Regions from separate parts of the Homo sapiens genome. Here all the other regions are linked to region 1. The links are contacts of gene promoters, found by promoter capture Hi-C in blood cells and fetal thymus (Javierre and others, 2016). All regions are on one chromosome and are shown on one strand. The core of a region is centred on a gene start or on the middle of the fragment in contact, and the rest is flanking DNA. Distances in the headings are between cores, read along the strand shown.

Region 1 (2,890 bases), core at 148-2,647:
GGACAAAGGCAGCCAGGCATGAGATTAGACATGTTAAGCCATCCTGAATGTCTGAAATGGGGGGTGGGGAGCAAGAGGGATAGTCCAGACAGGCAGGAAGGCGTGAGATCATACAGTACTTTGTTAACACTATCCCTGATTTAATAGCTGTATTGGCTATTCTCAATGACACAGAATGAAGTAAAATGTTGTCGAGGCCTGAATTATTACCTGGGATCTCTGGAGAACTGGATTTGCACAGCTCTCCACTTCCCTCAAGCTGGTTCTTCCGCTCTTTGAATGAATAAATAAAAAGCATTCACATGGAATTCTAGTGCCATCTAGCATTTAAAAAGGTAAAAGCCTCCAAGAGGAAATTATTTCTTAACACTGCATTTTGAACATGGCTTTTCCAGAGATAATTCCTCGTGCCACTGGTAACGGGCTTTGATTTCTTCTGCCTGTCACTTCCTCCAGATTCGATTCCTCTTTGAATCTCAAATGCTCTCACAAGATTCAGCTCTTCCCTTTTGAAGCAATTATTACGTTTGATAATTTTACGTCTATTTTATGATGATGATCTGATTAAAGTCATCTTTCCCACTAGTTTAATTTCTATAAGGAGGGGCCTTGTCTGTGATTTGCCCACCATCGTCTCCCAGCACCTGGGAACATTTCTGGTTTCCTGCAATACTGTTGAAAGAACAATGCCTCTCTATGCTTTCTTAAACTTTGTTAGTGATAATTTCTACTTCTACCTGGACTTTACTTAAGGGTAATCCTTAATAAACTTTATCAAAACTTAATAAACTTTATCAAAACTTAATAAACTTTATCAAATGTCTGTTGTAATCGTCACAAAAAGATTTAATACTCAACATCTGGCCTTAACCAGAGGGAAACATTTTCTAGCCCAAGTTTTCCCCTTAACCGGCTGAGTCGGGGAAGGATGTAATTTTCAGGCAGAGGTGACTTCGTTCCAAGGGTGTGAATGCATTATTTTTGACGCTGCCTGTAAGAGCAGGGTCGCTGACACTGAATAAACAGCGCTATCCTCTCCAACGATAAAAGTGGCCAACATCTCGTGCTAGCAATTCCCAAGTGCGTCATGAGCATCCCCGTCCTCAGAAACGTGAGACGAAGGCGGCATGCGCAGGCACTGGGCTAGACGAGCCCGAGGTTGAACCACTCGCGTTCTGGGCCCCGGAGTCCGAGACAGGCGGGGACCCCGGCAGCTCCCGGTGCTATCTCTGAGCGGGTTCCGAGCCCCACTTCCGGGCGGTCAGAATTAGCCTCAGAGCGCCGAGCAACGACGCGCCGGGGACCTCCCGCCCATGAGGCCGGAAGGGGCGGGGAGAACGCTGCGGAATGGTCCCTGGGCGCAACGTCATTTCCGCGTACGGGGGAGGGCGGGCCTGGAGTCTGAGCCGGCGCCGCTCAGTGTGAGGTGGTTTCTGCGGGTGAGGCTGGCGCCCGTACCATGAGCGAGGCGGACGGGCTGCGACAGCGCCGGCCCCTGCGGCCGCAGGTCGTCACAGACGATGATGGCCAGGCCCCGGAGGCTAAGGACGGCAGGTAGGGCGGACTCCCAGACTGGGCGCTGGAGCCGGGCCGCTAGGAGTGGAGGGCGACCCTCTTGGACAGCGGCGACGGCAGTAACAGTAACCTGGGGATGCGGTGCCGAGCGCGTTGTCAGAGTCCTCTCGTTTCATCCCCAAGAAAAACTCATTTTTCCGAGGAAGCAGGCTCCGACAAGGCGGATGTACCTGCCAGGTCTTTCAGGTTCGGGTGCACCCTGCGCCCAGTCGCCGCGTTGTCCTCGGCTCTCCGGACCCGAGACCGCCTCGCGCCGCTCCTTTGCCTTCCCTCCCTCACTCCTGCCCCACCCTGCATAGCGGTTGCTTCCTCGCCTTTCCCTCGCTCCCCTCGCGCTGTCCTTCCTTTGGCTTAAATGATCCCCCTGAGCACAGCTACTTGGCCGGGGCCCTGCGTGTTCCTGGTTCCCCGCTCGCAATTTCCCGAAGGGAGGAGGTCCCACGAGATGCTGGGGTCCTGCCTCGTTATCCGGCGAAGAGATGGCTTCTACACTTGCTCTTCTGCACCTGCCCCCCTCACGCTGCGTGACCAGTCCTCACCGCGGTTCTTGGAAAGAGTGGAGAACAGTAGTGACATTGTAGGCAATTTTTGTGAGAATTCAGCCTGGCAGTTTTTCCTGATAGGGATGGAGAAACATAGGAAACTGTAGTTGTTGACACCTAAGAAATATCAGGTTTTGCCCTTTGCCTCCTCTCCCATCTTTCAGAATATAAGAATGCTGTGTTTTGTTAGCTAAAAACTGAATCATGATTCGTAAGCATAGATTTCAATATAAGATACTTAAAATTCACTTTTCAATTCTGTGTCCTGAATTTCATAACTTTTAAGTTTCAGGGAGAATCAAGAGGCCCCATAGACCAAGCTTGAAGTTGTGGGACTGATTGACTTATATTTGATAGAAATACTGGAAATATTTGTTCATCAGTAGTGTGCCAAGAGGTGGTGGGGTACATATGAATGAGAGGCAGTTTTTGCCCCTGTAGACTGAGTTTATTGACTGATGATAAGAGGAACACATTTGAAGGAGAGCGATGGCAGGAAGGAGCATTTAGGCTCTAGAGAGGCAATTTAGAGAGAAGACTTTGCGGTGATAGTTGACTCCTTGGGCCAGTGAAAAGATCGGGAAGATGCTCCCATATATCCTGACCAACCATCCTGCGTTGCCCTGGACTGGGGTTTCCAAGGATGTAGAACTTTCAGTGCTAAACCTGGGCAAACTGGGACAATCTGATCACCCTACTTACTGTGAATATTGTGAATTAATCATCTGTTGATGATTGAGGAGCCATTTAGAATGGACATGCAAGAATTGGCA
Region 2 (2,890 bases), core at 139-2,638, 960 kb after region 1:
CGAAGCACAATGTCTGTCTACTATGCATTGTGTCCAGGGCACACTCACACCTAGAGACCAAATCCACACTGTGCAAAATATCTGCACACAATGGAAAGAGATAGAGGCAAGCTTTCACATTTAATTTGGCAAATAATCGGATTTATAGAAATATCTGGATTTTTGTTTTATTCCTCTCTTTATATCTTGTCAGTTCTGTCTCTCTGTAGAGCCCTGACAAAAATGGAGCCCAGGGTAGGAAGTAGTCAGCTCTTCCTCCTGAAGCTTCACTCCATGACACCCTGGTGACCTCAATGGAGACAGCTGTCCCAAATCATATTAGTTAATTGCATCTTGTACCAATTGAACATGATGACTCTTCCCCAGGCTCTAACAATCTCTTCATTGAACAACTTGCTTGTCAGATGCTTTGTCTGTTTGTATTGCTACAAAGAAATACTCAAGTCTGGGTAAGTTATAAAGGAAAGAGGTTTATGTTGTCTCCCAGTTCTGCAGGCTGAACAAGAAGCATGGTGCCAGCATCCACTCTCTTTCCAATGAGGTCCTCGGGTTGGTTCCATACATGATGAAAAGTGAATGGAAGCTCGTGTGTGCAGAGACCACGTGGTGAGGGGATGGGGAGTGCCAGGCTTGTTTTGACAACCAGTTTCTCAAGGGAGCTGATAGTGTGAGAACTCACTCTTCACTGTGAGGACAGTACCAAGACATTCATGAGGGATCTGTCCTCAGGATCCAAACACCTCCCCTTAGGCCCCCATCCAATATTGGGGGTCAAATTTCAATATGGAGTTTGGGGGACAAACATCTAAACTATAGCAGATGCTTTTCCTGCTACTAAAAGACACAGTTTAGCTGTGTTTGGCCACCCTTCTAGAGCTGATTAGAAATCTACTCACCACACAAGTATACACTGACAGCTTTCTGGGGAGACCTTGGTTATTGCATCCAGAGTTTATATGATTAAATTATAACCCTTGTCTTCTGTCTTCTCTTCCACCCCACTCCACCAGTTTCTATATAGCATCCGTCTGTTTCTATATCCTTTGTAAAATGAGATGCCTCAAGACCATCTAAAAACAGTGCCTGTCTGTGGCTGGTAGATCTTATGCATTGGTAGAAAAACATTCAGCCTGTGGAAAGGAGAGAGCAAAATTAACTTAGATGCTAAATTTTATCAGAGCTAAATTCATATTCCCCTACGGTTGGGGCAGGAAAGTCAGGTACATTTTACAAGTTCAGAAGGAAGAAAATTCTTTGTATTATTGCCTCTCAAGTTAAGTCAAATATTGGTAGCCTGGACTGGCTACATAAAATAAAATCTCATCAAGCCACAGTCAACAACTCTGAAAATAATGCTCCAAACACTACGGTTATATAACAAGAAGAATCCTTGTGTATGAACTGAATTAGACTTCCTTTCTCCAGGGAAATGTAATGGAATTAAGTCTCCTCTGTTCCCATTTAGAAGTTCATACATAATCATAGCATGTTATTACACAGACAGAAAATGAAAACTTCAAAGCCAGAGCTGGTACACAATGCAATTTATTTCTACTGGTAATAAATTGCCCCCTAGGTTATGGAAGAAGAATATGACGATGGAGACTAAGAAGAAACTAATGTCCTTTCTCAAAACATTGCAACAGCTGTGCCCATCTTGTGCGCCTCTCCAGAACTGACAGCATTGTTGCTGTTTTATTCCTTCAAGTGTTAAGTTCACCAACATCTGCTGATGGAAAGATGACAAAATATCTCTTGATCTCTGCCAAATTGGCCTGTGGATAGACACTTTTTAAAGTCATAAACTTTTTATCAGCCTATGCAGGATATTATTCTAAAATTTATTGTAGGCCGGGCGTGGTGGCTCACGCCTGTGATCTTAGTACTTTGAGAGGCTGAGGCAGGTGGATCACCTGAGGTCAGGAGTTCAAGACGAGTATGGTCAACATGGTGAAAACCCGTCTCTACTAAAGATACAAAAAATTAGCCAGTCATGGTGGCGGGCGCCTATAATCCCAGCTACTCGGGAGGCTGAGGCAGGAGAATCACTTGAACCAGGGAGGCAGAAATTGCAGTGAGCTGAGGTCATGCCATTGCACCCCAGCCTGGGCAACAAGAATGGAACTCCATCTCAAAAAATAAAATATAAATAAATAAATAATAAAAATAAAATTTATTGTAATAATTAAAAATTTGATAGAAAGCATTAGCCAAGACAATAAGCCAATCCATCAACCTCAAGAAAGCCAGGCAAAATCTTTCGAATTTCTTTAATACACTTGTCATGATGATATTGGGGAAGCCTGGCTTGAAATCCAAGTGGCCTTCTCCAATTCTTAGCCCTGTCACTTTTTACCAGGGTTTGAGCTTTGATAGTTTGCTTAACATAACTGGGTCTTGATTTCATGGAGAAAATGCTACATGTTAGATAGAGGTTTCATGGGAATAAATTGAAATACTGCATGCATGACACCCAAGGGGCATCCGACACAGAGAAAATACCTGAAGCTTAGTCCTCTCCCCAACCCCTCTCCTCCCTGTACTTTGCTTTATGGTATTGAGTCCTGAGTTTATCTCTGTGAAACACTGTTGCAAATAGACTTCTAATTCCAGATGGTTGCCTAAACTCAAGAAATCCTATTCTTTTGTTCCAAAAAGTTATAATGCTTTAGATATATCAAAAAAGAAAAATAGCCCATAGCCCAGCTACGATGAGTAGGAACACTCAATATTGTAACGATAAGCTCCTCAAATGCAATCACAACCAAAACCCCAACAAGCTTTCCATTGTGTATGTGGTTGTAGGTTTCTAAAACTTAATGGATGAGTAAAGTAAGGTTGGAAAAGACAGTCCTGAAAAAGAAATAGAAAGTAGAGAGAGTTACTACAC
Region 3 (2,890 bases), core at 266-2,765, 890 kb after region 1:
TGTGTTCAGGTCTCTGCCACCAGGAGTCTGCTTCATAGTTCTTGACTCAGGAATCTCCTGTTTCTTTGTAGTGAGACAGCTGTCAGTAAAAGCTCTTTTTAGCTTTTCACCATCCAAAGGTTTTTACCTCCTCCTGACCATAATGGGTGAGAATGCACTGCCTGGCTCAGGAGTCAAAAATATGTGGTCCCATGGGACCTCTGCTCTGTCCCTTGGCTTGGGGAATGTGTGGCTGTCCACCAGGGACTGCCTCCTTTCACTAGTTTTGGGGTTGCAGCAAGAGGACCCCTCACCTATGCATCACCAATGCTTCTCTAAACTCCATGTTGACACCCAGGGCTCCTACAAGAGCTCCCTGCATGGAGGGTTTTGTCCCTGTGCATCAGTCTGGGGGGCCTATCAGCCCCTGCACTCCATCACTCAGCTCAACTACCCCTGCATAGCCCACTCATCAGCGCAGGATTCCTGGTGTTGGGAGCACGGCCTCTGTGCAGGCCCAGGTTTCCCAGGATGAGCCTGCTGCCTGTTTGTTTCTGTGCAATGCTGACTCTCCATGCTTAGGTTCATATATTTCTACCAGCAGTGAGGTGTCCAGACACCACATCCATGTGTCACCACAGAAAATAAGGAGCCAGTTCTGGAACCCCACAGTCTTTTATGGGATATCATAGTCTTTTCCCCATGATTCAATTTTATGGGATATCATAGTCTTTTCCCCATTATTCCAGTCCATCCTGAGAGGGCCACTTTCTGCAAGCTGCACCTCCCCACCCCGTTAAAGCATCGTGAGATCACCAGTCATTCAAAGGCAGTGGTCCTCATGCCACACCCCAGCAGCACACTCTATACCCAGGGAGACTTCTTACTCCAAAAGCATCAGAACCAGATGATTTTGGACTAAGGACCACTGGTTTCCCAGTGCTTCTAAAAATCTAGAAGATTTCACTTTTTTGTCTGTGATGCCTTACACACACAGATGCACTTGTTCTCTGCATATGGCGTTTTACAGACTGAGAGCTCAGAGGAGCTGGAACCCACAAGTGGTGGCCATAGAGGATACGGGCAGCCTGGGCTCCTTCAACGACTCCATTCATGGATGTAGAGAAATGCTCCCTTTCATGGCAGCTGCAGGTGGTATCTTTGCCCCTCTTCATCCCACTGCCTCACAGCCCTGCCCTGGCCTCACTGATTCCAGCACTGAACTTTCCATCACAGTTCTGTCTCCGGTCAGTCTTTTCCCTGGGGCACTGTGGGCTGACCATGTTTCAGGATCAGGCTCAGGATGAAATCGAGTCTCCCCTCACCAGTGCCCATGAGCACATCTACACATACATGTCTCAGGACAGTCCCTGCTACAGAGCAAAGGCAAGGGCTTTTCTCTTTATCCACTGCTTTGTTCCAAGCCTGTTGCCTTTATGGCAACTGTTGATGTTACTGTGAATCTCTCTAATTTTGTCTCAGTCTCAAGCTAGCACTAGTCTAGATCAATACAAGTTACTTGTACTGATGCGGTCTGTGCTGTGGCAGATCGTCTGGTTCAGGACCCCCCATGAGCTCCAGGGCCTTTACAATGCCATGCCTCCTGTTGAGAGAAGAAGTCTCTTTCCCAACCCCTGAACCTGGGCATTCCCGTGGCTGCCTTTGATGAATGGACAGTGGGGGACAATGAACTGGGCAGGCTCCTGAGCCCCAGTATAGGTTACAGCCCCCACCTTCACTCCCTTGCAACACTGAGACCACAGTGTTGTGGAGAGTCCTGGATCAGCGTCCTGGAAGATGAGAGGCTACTTGGGCACACGGAGGTACCCCGACCAACAGCCATACCACCTGCCAGCATGGCCATGGGGCCAACTTGGGCCCTCCAGCCTGGTCAACACCAGTGGCTACAGCACATGTAGGAGCCAGGGGATACCAACAGAAGAACTGCCCAGGCTGTCAGCCCTGGAGACTGTGAGAAATAATAAATAATTGTGAGTTTCAGCCCCAAGTATTGGGGGGCTTTATTACCTTTTACTGCATAAAAGGTTTTCAGGAAATCTGGCTCTCCTTCATTATGCTGGCTTCTACCCACTTAGAAAGGAGTTTAGGCTGGGGATCAGGCCCTACACTCCCAGGCATTGAGATAAGGACATTTTGGATGTTTTGTGACAGCAATCCGTGAAAAGCAGACTCCGACTCAGCTGTTCCTGCCACCTCATCTGTAACAAAATGAAGCAAAACTCCCAGCTTCTGCAAATGCTGAGAACAGATCACAGTAAACTTGAGGTCATCTAACATAGAGAACTTTGGATATTTGGCTAAAAGCAGAAGAAGAATTTGGCTCTTATTCTATTTCTTTTTTTAATCATTAATTGGAATAATGCATCTCAAAAATTGTATGCACAGAAATGTCTTAATATTGAAGTTTCCATCTGTCTTTACCCCCCTTCCTGTACTATAATCTCATTCTAACAGAGCAGAAAACATCTTTCTAAACTTCTACTGAAATAATAAAGTACTTTCAGAGAATCCATTCATTCATTTTAACAGACACATTTCAGCATACTTATGTTCCAGATTGAGTGGTAAAGTTTGTAGAAAGAGCTTTGGACACCATCTCTCCCTATGCTGAAGAATCTGTCAGCCTAGATTGGAAAAGAGATGATTAAAGAGTCTGAGAATTGATGTGACAGAAGGATATTTATATAATAACAGTCATCATGAAAATGCATAGAAAAGGCACAGAGGGCAGACTTCAAGGAGGCCAGGGAAAGGTTTTTTCCTGAGGAATTCATGAATGAATTTAGTCATTCATTAGTCATACTGAAATAACATTTTTGGTAATGTCATGTTAGGTGAAAAGGTTATCACAAGAAAGAAGTTGGGGAGAGAGGAGAGAGAGAGAGGCATT
Region 4 (2,890 bases), core at 227-2,726, 700 kb before region 1:
TATATCCAAAAGAAAGGAAATCAGTATTTCAAGGATATATCTGCACTCTCATGTTTACTACAGCACTATCCAAAATAGTAAAGATATAGAATCAAAGTGTCTATCAACAGATGAATGGATAAGGAAAGTGTGGTACATTAACACAATGGGATATTAGCCAGTCATTAAAAGAATGAAATTCTGTCATTTTCAATAGCATGTATGAAAATGGAGGACATTATGTTAAGCGAAATGAGGCACAGCATGACAAATATCACATGTGCTCACTCATTTGTGGGGCTAAAAACGTGAACTCATGGAGATGGAGAGTAGAATGAGATAGTTAACAGAGGCTGGGAAGGATGGTGGGTAGAGGAGATAAAGAGGGACTTGTTAATCGATACAAAAATACAGTTAGAATGAATAAGATCTAGTAGTTGGTAGCACTATACAGTGACTATAGTTAAGAACAATTTTACTATATATTTAAAAATAAGAGAGAATTGGAAACTTCCTAAAACAAAGAAATGCTAAATGCTTGAGGGGATGGATACCCCAATCACCCTCATTTGACCATTAAACACTGTATGCCTGTATCAAAACATAACATGTACCCTATAAATATGTACAACTAATATTTATCCAGAATAATTAAAAATTTAAAAACCAAAAGAGAAAAAGCAAACAGCAAGTATACCTAGTAAAGGCCTGAAATATAAAGTCTACGTGGTTTGGCAAGCCACAAAAGATATCAGCATATTATACACCCTACATAATGAAAGAATTCTGGCATTGATGCATAATTAGATAAATGGGGGAACAATTAGAAATTGAAATGCAAATGTAAATTGAGTATACTGAATTATGTAGCTGAAACCTTAAATTATTTGGTAAAAGACTATATTTTTAATAAATTTAATGGGAAATTAATAAAATATTAGAAAATTTTAAAAATAATTGTATATTTACAGTGTGTACCTGGAGAAAAATTAAACCATTGAGAGATCTAAATGTGAATGATAAAACCACAAAATCCGTAGGAAAATCAGAGATCAAAAGTACTACATAGCAAAAAAAAGAAACAAAAGAAAAAAAAAAGACATACCCATAATCAAAAGACAGTGGGAAAATTATTTACCTATATCATAGAAATGGGAAAATATGCTTAATGTATGTATAGGGCTACCTAAATAAAAGAAATCGCCGGTTCTGAAAGGATCCCTCCACGTCCAAACGACCATAGGCTCGCCCCACCTGTCAGAGAGGAGTCCTTCCGAGAAGTCCTTCCAAGGATTCCGGGTCGCGCAGTCCCGGGTGGACCGCTATGACCAATATTCTGGGGCGTGTACCTGGACGACTCCCGAGGACTCTGGGGAGTGTAGTCCACCGAGGGGATGCGACGCGCAGGGTCGCATAGCCTCCGGGCCGCGCCGAGGATGCTGGGTAGCGTAGTCCCGGCCGCGCTGAGGATTCTGGGTAGTGTAGTCCCGGGCGGCGCAGAGCGTTCCAGATCCCTGGGCGTCAGCGAGCCGTGAGATGCGTGGTCCACCATCGGTGACCTCACCGCCTCGGTTCGCCCTCAGCCGCCCCGGTGAGCTGCGCTCCTGCGGGTCCCTCTCTGCAGCGCGCCCTTCCGGCGCAGGAAGAAGGGCCGGGAAGGCCTGGGACGTGAGGGCGCTGCTGGGGCCGTAGCGCGCGCTCCTCCAGGCCCGGCGTCTCCGCGTTCTGGGGAGGGGCGGAGACCCAGGCCGCGCCTTGAAGTGGGCGGTGGGGCTGCGGCTTGCCGAGCGCCCCGGGTCTGGGCCGCCACTCAGTCTCCGTTCCCGGTTGCGTGTAGTGGCGGCTCGGGCGGTGAACAGCCCGGATTTCACAGGGGCGCCGAGCAACCCAGGTCCTCTTGTGCCAGGGTCGCCGCTCCTCGGGTGGGGACGGGCCAGCGGCCTAGCGAGCTGCCACGGGGGTCTTTTGGCCGGAGGTGGAGGGGGACTCGGCCACAGCCAGGGTCCACTGGTGGGGTGGGGGTTACAGCCATGAGACGGATGGGCTAGGTCCGACTCGGGTTCCCTCCGACTCTGATGCTCCAGACTTTATTGTGGGAGGCGGGACAGGGGAGGACTTCGCCCGCGTGTTTTGGGGAAGGGCCGCTGCTTTGGGTTGGGAGCACCCCGCCTTGGGACGATCTTCCGCGGATAGGAGTGTAGGCCGGGACCAAATGTCCTCGCACGGGCACGTCTAGACGTGTTTTGGTGGGGGGGGGGGGGGATCTGCGTGGGGCAGCGTCCGCGGGAGGTGAGGTGGCTGTGGGGACCCAGGTGGCCTCTTCCCTGGGGCCTTGCTAATGACGGCAAAATCCGGGTTCTGCCAAAATATATTTAAAAAGGTTTATTCCTAGTCAGTATGAGTGACTGTGGCCCAGGTTATTCAGCCTCAAGAGGTCCTGTGAAAGTGCCCGAGATGGTCAGGCTTGCAGGTTAATTTTATACAATTCAGGGAGACAGGAATTTCAGGTAAAGTCATAAATCAGGCTGAGCAGTGTGGCTCATGCCTGTAGTCCCAGCACTTTGGGAGGCCAGGAGTTCCAGAGCAGCCTGGGCAGCACAGCAAGACCCTGTCTCTACATGAAATTAGAAAAATAAAAAAATTAGCGGGGCGTGGTGTCCCATGCCTGTGGCCTCAGCTACTTGGGAGGCCCAGTCAGTTGAGTCCAGGAGGTGGAGGCTGTAACCAGCTATGTTGGCTGCACTGCACGCTAGCCTGGGTAACACAGCGAGATCCTGCCTCCAAAAAGAAAATCATAAATCAATAAGAGAAAGATATACACGGGTTCCTCCCAAAAAGCTGGTATATCTCCAAAGGGTTTACACCTCATGGGGGCACTTAGGGATTCTTTAGTGGACAGTTGGTTGAGAGA

Evidence for each region. Contacts are between HindIII fragments. The CHiCAGO score rates a contact against its expected background, and 5 or more counts as called.
Region 2: a fragment that was not itself captured here is called in contact with the fragment with the promoter of APMAP in region 1 in 1 of 17 cell types (total CD4 T cells); the score reaches 5.8 in total CD4 T cells.
Region 3: a fragment that was not itself captured here is called in contact with the fragment with the promoter of APMAP in region 1 in 1 of 17 cell types (total CD4 T cells); the score reaches 7.0 in total CD4 T cells.
Region 4: the fragment with the promoter of ZNF337 here is called in contact with the fragment with the promoter of APMAP in region 1 in 3 of 17 cell types (total B cells, monocytes and total CD8 T cells); the score reaches 9.8 in total B cells.

What each region holds. Positions count from the first base shown.
Region 1 is chr20:24,991,258-24,994,147 of GRCh38, reverse strand. APMAP (adipocyte plasma membrane associated protein) reads left to right here and starts at 1,397. Exons shown (of 9, transcript NM_020531.3): 1 at 1,397-1,554. The coding sequence starts at 1,460. RefSeq lists enhancers at 843-1,343, 1,256-1,495, 1,626-1,705, 1,726-1,785, 1,344-1,844. The HindIII fragment of the contact is 12,703 bases long and covers 1-2,439 here.
Region 2 is chr20:24,027,895-24,030,784 of GRCh38, reverse strand. No RefSeq gene overlaps it. Among named protein-coding and RNA genes, the nearest start is that of GGTLC1, 41 kb to the right of the region's middle. The HindIII fragment of the contact is 2,244 bases long and covers 267-2,510 here.
Region 3 is chr20:24,102,867-24,105,756 of GRCh38, reverse strand. All of the region lies in intron 1 of WAKMAR1 (wound and keratinocyte migration associated lncRNA 1), which reads left to right. Among named protein-coding and RNA genes, the nearest start is that of WAKMAR1, 7.6 kb to the left of the region's middle. RefSeq lists an enhancer at 2,009-2,890. The HindIII fragment of the contact is 4,651 bases long and covers 1-2,890 here.
Region 4 is chr20:25,695,439-25,698,328 of GRCh38, reverse strand. It overlaps ZNF337 (zinc finger protein 337), which reads left to right and starts at 1,476. Exons shown (of 5, transcript NM_015655.4): 1 at 1,476-1,570. It overlaps LOC107985400 (a long non-coding RNA gene), which reads right to left and starts at 1,288. Exons shown (of 2, transcript XR_007067557.1): 1 at 1,166-1,288. RefSeq lists an enhancer at 1,963-2,072. The HindIII fragment of the contact is 13,942 bases long and covers 1-2,890 here.